2 separate regions of the Homo sapiens genome follow, and region 2 is linked to region 1. Evidence: promoter capture Hi-C in 16 types of primary human blood cells and fetal thymus (Javierre and others, 2016). All regions are on one chromosome and are shown on one strand. Each heading gives the region's core, a stretch centred on a gene start or on the middle of the fragment in contact. The rest is flanking DNA. Distances are from core to core; before and after follow the strand shown. Region 1 holds the start of NLRC4 (NLR family CARD domain containing 4). Region 2 overlaps STRN (striatin).

Region 1 (3,179 bases), core at 453-2,952:
ATGGTGGCTCCCGCCTGTAATCCCATTACTTTAGGAGGACAACACAGGTGGATCACTGGAGACCAAGAGCTCAAGACCAGCTTGGCCAACATAGCAAAACCCTGTCTCTACTAAAAATACAAAAAATTAGCCATGGTGGTGGCCCACACCTGAAATCCCAGCTACTTGAGAGGCTGAGGCACAAGAATTGCTTGAGCCTGGGAGGCAGAGGTTGCAGTGAGCCAAGATTGAGCCACTGCACTCCACTCCAGCCTGGGCAACAGAACGAGACTCTGTCTCAAATAAATAAATAAATAAATAAATAAACAAATAAAATAAAAAATAAATAAGTTGATAAATAAAATTAGAATATACAGATAAGCCAAAGACAGAAATTTAAAATTGCTTATAATTGTATTCCCCAGCAATAAGCATCATTACTATTTTGGTGGCTGTCTTTGCAGTTTTTTCTCTTGAACATATGTTTATATATAGGTTTCATTACAATTTAAAAATCTAGCTGATAGTGTAGCCCTCAATCTCACTTCAGAGAAACCCACCTCACAAGTTGGGAAACACTGACACTGATGCCCCCTTAGAAAACCCAGGATGTAGACATTTATTTGCCGGGAAACTTTGGTATCCCTCTATGGCAGATAGGCTACTGTCAGAATGCTCTTTTTGAAATAAGAAGTTATGTAACACAAAGACATGTTCCTGGTAGTTTATGCAAAGACAGAGGAAAGAGTATGCAAGAATGTCATCCTCAAGGGAAGTGCAGAGAGATTTCTTCAGTCCTCAGCTGAGTATAAGCTGGCCTCCTGGAGTCTGTGAACACAAACGTCCAATGTGAGTGTGCCTGTGCAAGCCCCTGGCTGTTTATACTCCGGAGGGTGTCCCCGTGCGTCATCGGTGGAGTGGACCAAAACTGGTGATCTGTTTGCCCTGTGTGACCTTGCCCAGAACCCTGCTGACTGAGAGAACACATCTGCTGGAAGTCCTCTGGGATTCAAGGTACAGGGGTAAGCATGACCTTGAATGCAGTAGCAATGTGCTTTAGCCAACTAAGCTGGCTCATTTCATTTACCGCTCTATCTCCCATGGTTAAGCATTAAAAATACATGTTGTGGCTGGGCATGGTGGCTCACGCCTGTAATCCCAGCACTTTGGGAGGCTGAGGCTGGCAGATTGCCTGAGGTCAGGAGTTCGAGACCAGCCTGGCCAACATGGTGAAATTCTGTCTCTACTAAAAATACAAAAATTAGCCGGGCATGGTGGTGCACGCCTGTAGTCTTAGCTACTGGGAGGACTGAGGCGGGAGGAACGCTTGAACCCGGGAGGCAGAGGTTGCAGTGAGCTGAGATTGTGCCACTGCCCTCCAGCTTGGGTGACAGAACAAGACTCTGTCTCAAAAAAAAGAAAAAAGAAAGAAAAAGAAAAAAAATATATGTTGGATGTTCAGAAGACTTTGTTTCATTTTAAGGTATAGAATAAGTAACTCAACAGCAATGAATTCATATGTTGTGAACAAACAGGAAACAAATGAGTAATTCCTTTCTTGACGGAATTTCTAGCTCTTGCATCTTTTACTCTGAAGTTCTACTTCTTCCCCGGCTACTCCTGCCTACACCCATCTTCCCTTTCTGAACTGGTAGTACTTGTGTCCAAACCACTCTTACTGTGCTTTGAAAAAAAAAAAAGGAACTGCTCAGCAGTTCCCCTCTCTGTACACTGTCCTCTCACAGAACAAGAAGGTATCTGGTCTACAAGAACTCGAGGCCTCACTGAAACGGAAAGCAAATACAAAGAAACTTTATTTTAAAAACATGTCTTGGTCTCCCAAGAAGAGGGCAATTGGATTGCTCAGCCAGGTACTGTGGGTAGAGAGAATGGGATTTTTAAGGTCTGGGGCCCAAATATTAAAATCTGGGTTTACATTCATTTAAAGCTTGTGTCTGGGATGTACAAAAGCCTTAACATTGACGAGTGTGATTTGCATGCCTGGCTGGATTTGCCTGCCGAGAAACCTTTAGGGGTGGTTAATCGGGTCTGCTGGGGCTTCATCAGGTTCAAGGGGTACATGTACCCCTTGGACTACTGTGAGATGGAAAGGACTTTGGAAACACTTTTTGGCATTACAGAAAGGAAACTCACTCTTTTTTTTTTTTTTTTTTTGAGACAGAGTCTTGCTCTGTCACCCAGGCTGGACTGCAGTGGCGTGATCTCGGCTCACTGCAACCTCTGCCTCCTGGGTTCAAGCAATTCTCCTGCCTCAGCCTCCCAAGTAGCTGGGATTACAGGCACCCGGCACCGCGCCCCAGCTAATTTTTGTATTTTTAGTAGAGACAGGGTTTCACCATGTTGGCCAGACTGGTCTCAACTCCTGACCTCGTGATCTGCCCACCTCAGCCTCCCAAAGTGCTGGGATTACAGGTGTGAGCCAACGTGCCCGGCCAGGAAACTCACTCTTGTTGCTAAGACTGTTGTTAGAATCACAGATGATCAAAGCTGAAAGGAACGAGGTGGACTACTTAGTCCATCCAATCTCCCAAGTTACTGATGAGAAACCTGATATTTGGAGACAGAAGTGAAGGAAATCACCCTTTACGGGACACCTATTTCGTGATAGGGTCTTTATGTACATTATCTCAGTAGATCCTTGCAGCCTGGCTTTGAGAGGTGGAAAATGTGGTAGAGAGGAGTTAAATGTCCTGCCCTACATCACACTGCTAATTGTCTACAAAACTAGGATAGAACCTGGTCAGCACACTTCTTAACTGTTCACACACTTTTATAATATTAGTCGTATTAATGTGTTTAAAATACCATAGACTGGGTGGCTTAAACAACAGAAATTTATATTCCCACAGTTCTGGAGGCTGCAAGTCCAAGACCAAGGTGTCAGCAGGGTTGGCTTCTCCCCACGCCTCCCTCCTTGGCCTTTTCTCTCTGTATGCACATTCCTGGTATCTCCCTTTGTGTGTCCCGATTTCCTCTTCTCATAACAGCCTCATTTGAGCTTAATGACCTCTTTAAAGGCTCTGTCTGCAAATACAGTCACATTCTGAGGTTCAGGGCTTCAACATATGGATTTGGGGGAAGCCCAGTTCAGCACATAACACTAATATTAACATGTGAGATTGCTGAAGCCTATTAAAGACCTAAGAACATTCTAGTCTAGAGCCTTTTTACTAGAAAGG
Region 2 (3,082 bases), core at 143-2,642, 4.7 Mb before region 1:
ACCGACCAAGCTTCTGCCCTCATGGAGTTTATGTTTTAGTGGAGAGGCAAACAGTCCAGCAAATGCGCCTATAGAATATAATGGCTTATAGTGGCAACTGCTGTGAGGAAGAAATAAGTCAGAGTTCAGGAATAGCGTGTGATAGGGGCAGCTATTTTAGATGGGGTAGTCAGGGTAGGCCTCTGAGAGATGACAAATGAGCAGCTGAATGAAGTTAGGGAGTGACCAGTAGTTTCTATGATTTCCTTGTAAGTCTGTAGTTACATGTTTATATTATTTGGCAACTTTTTCATTCCTATTGTTATATTGCTGTAGTATTTAGTCGATCTAGTCTATCTGATATTTGCAAGTCTTCTTTGACCTTGTTTATATAGTCTCCAACAAATTTGAATACTTACAGATTGATCTTTATTAGCAGCGCATTCTATAAAAGGTGTGGATTTCAGGATTCAAGGAAATGTTAAAGGCAAAGTTTAACTTTAATGTTGTGCAGTTGTGGGGAATGATTTTTGTATTAGTTACTTAAAATTTAATTTCTTTTCCAGTTTTGGGAATATAGATAACTCACACTAATTTGGTTAAAAAAAAAAAAACAAAAACAAAACACACACACACACCAGAAAACAATGCTTACCTTTCTACCTGTAGAAGTTGGGGAATTCCAACCCATCCTTCCCCCCGCCCCGCCCCGTTCACTCCCTCTCCTCGTTTAAACTTTTCAATTTACTGGTAACTGTAGTTGATCTTCAGTTTTTATGCACACATCTCCAAACACCCCTTCCTGGGTTGTTTGTGGCAAATGTTTATTAACTTCAGGTAGCTTTCCCATGGGTGCTTATCATATTAAAGAGACTCCTTTTTTTTTTTCCTTTTATTGGAGAGAGGGTCTCGCTCTGTTGCCCAGGCCGGTGTGCAGTGGTGCAGTCTTAGCTCACTGCAACCTCCGCCTCCCAGGTTTAAGCAATCCTTCTGCCTCAGCCTCCCAAGTTTAAGCAATCCTTCTGCCTCAGCCTCCCAAGTAGCTGGGATTACAGTCATGCACCACCATGCCTGGCTTATTTTTGTATTTTTGGTAGAGACGGGGTTTCACAATGTTGGCCAGGTTGGTCTTGAACTACTGACCTCAGTGATCTGCCTGCCTCAGCCTCCCAAAGTGCTGGTATTACAGGCGTGAGCCACTGTGCCCGGCCAAGGACACTACTTTTTTGACAGCATTTTCTGTTTTGTGTTCCAATTAAAGTTTCCACAGAGAAACTTTAAAAATGTGTCATTTTCCTAACAGGATGAATATGATATATTTTGGGGGGAAGAGTTTGCAGTAATCTCTGGTCTTTGTCCCCCCTTATTAGTGTAATTGGAAAAAAAATTATTACCATCGTTACATTTGAATCTTCTTTATTTTTCTTTTGCTACTGGAATTTTCTTAGAAACACAATAGGAAGTAAAATAGTTGAATGCGTTGTGATGAAATACGGCTCAGTTGGTGTCCTCCTTTTAATTTTTAAATCTCTTCCTAAGCCATTAACACCAGAGTCAACACAAATACCTTTAAGATGAAGTCAAATTTGCCTCTTCAAGAACCTGTCAGTCCTGCTCTTTCAGGTTGCCAGGGAAGACTTGTGAAAGGCAATCCAAGCTCTCATCTGCCTGGCCTGCCTTTACTGCTTCCTCCCTCCTTCAGATCTTGGGAGTAAGGAAAGGGCCACGTTATAGCAAAAACCTATTTATTTGTCACTTATTTCACTCTTGCTCATCTTATTTGATAAATTCTCTTTTTATTTTTGGTAATGCTCCCCTCCTCACATCCAGTTGAGATTAGGCAGTAGTTCATGGGGGGAAAAAAAGAATGATTAAGATTATTAGTGAGCTTTACATTTGTGAAAGGAATTGGAGAAGGAATACTAATAATATTTGAGAAAAATTTCTGTATGTGAGGCATTGTGCTAGATGACCTCAAAGAAACATGCAGTCTAGTTATTAGTACGATATAACTTGTAGAAGAATCAGAGTGTTTATCATTTGGGGAGAAGGCTAATTTCTTTAGAATAGTGAAGGAGAGGCCGGGCGCGGTGGCTCACACCTGTAATCCCCAGCACTTTGGGAGGCCAAGGCAGGCGGATCGTGAGGTCAAGATATCGAGACCGTCCTGGCCAACATGGTGAAACCTTGTCTCTGCTAAAAATACAAAAATTAGCTGAGCATGGTGGTGTGTGCTGGAGGCTGAGGCAGGAGAATCGCTTGAACCTGGGAGGCGGAGGTTGCAGTGAGCTGAGATCGTGCCACTGCACTCCAGCCTGGCGACAGAATGAGACTCCATCTTAAGAAAAAAAAAAAGAATAGTGAAGGAGAGAAGAGCCAGCAGTGAATGGGGAGAATAGCAGGAGTAAAGAACTTTATGAGTTCATGAGAACCTAAGGCTCAGTATTTGAAAATTACTGACTTATGAGAAAGCAGGCATGTAAATAAAAAATAAAAAATGTTGGCCCTAGATTTTGATATGTGTGTGGTGTGTGGTGTAGGAGAGGCCCTGATATTTACCTGTAAGTGTTAGAGTTGTATGAAAAAGGTGGCAAGATTGAGTAGCTTAGGGCATGTGGTGTGGAGGCTGTATGCTAGAGTTTTGGCATTAATAACTTGTATTTTCTGGGTTTTGGCATTAATAATTTGTATTTTCACTCCCCAAATATTTTTCAAGCATCTACTTCATGCCAGACCTTGTTCTAGATACCGGAGATACAACAGCAAAAATACAGATCTTGCCCTTATGAAGCTTAAATTGTTGAGGCAGGCAGACAGTGATAAATAAATACATAGAATGTTGGGAAAGAAAATAAGAGGATTTGAGAGGGTGGAATGGGGAAGAAAGGATTCACTGATAAGATGCCATTCGAGCTAAGACCTGAAAAGGTGATCTCTAAGGTGAGGAAAGAGCTTTCTACACAGAAGGAACAGCTGGGGGAAGGGAGCACGCTTGGAATATTTAAGGAATATCAAGGAGGGAAAAGTGGCTAGAGTAGAGGAAGAGAATGGAAGAAGTCATGTCAAACAGGTACTAATGGAAGAAGTCATGTCAGACAGGGTC

The links. The method cuts DNA at HindIII sites, captures the fragments that hold promoters and counts their contacts. A CHiCAGO score of 5 or more calls a contact.
Region 2: a contact is called between a fragment that was not itself captured here and the fragment with the promoter of NLRC4 in region 1, in 1 of 17 cell types (neutrophils). The highest score is 5.7, in neutrophils.

Annotation. Positions count from the first base shown.
Region 1 is chr2:32,263,409-32,266,587 of GRCh38, reverse strand. NLRC4 (NLR family CARD domain containing 4) reads left to right here and starts at 1,702. Exons shown (of 9, transcript NM_001199138.2): 1 at 1,702-1,850. The HindIII fragment of the contact is 10,627 bases long and covers 1-1,929 here.
Region 2 is chr2:36,961,784-36,964,865 of GRCh38, reverse strand. The region is part of intron 1 of STRN (striatin); the gene reads left to right. Among named protein-coding and RNA genes, the nearest start is that of STRN, 3.2 kb to the left of the region's middle. RefSeq lists a silencer at 2,175-2,370. The HindIII fragment of the contact is 2,760 bases long and covers 13-2,772 here.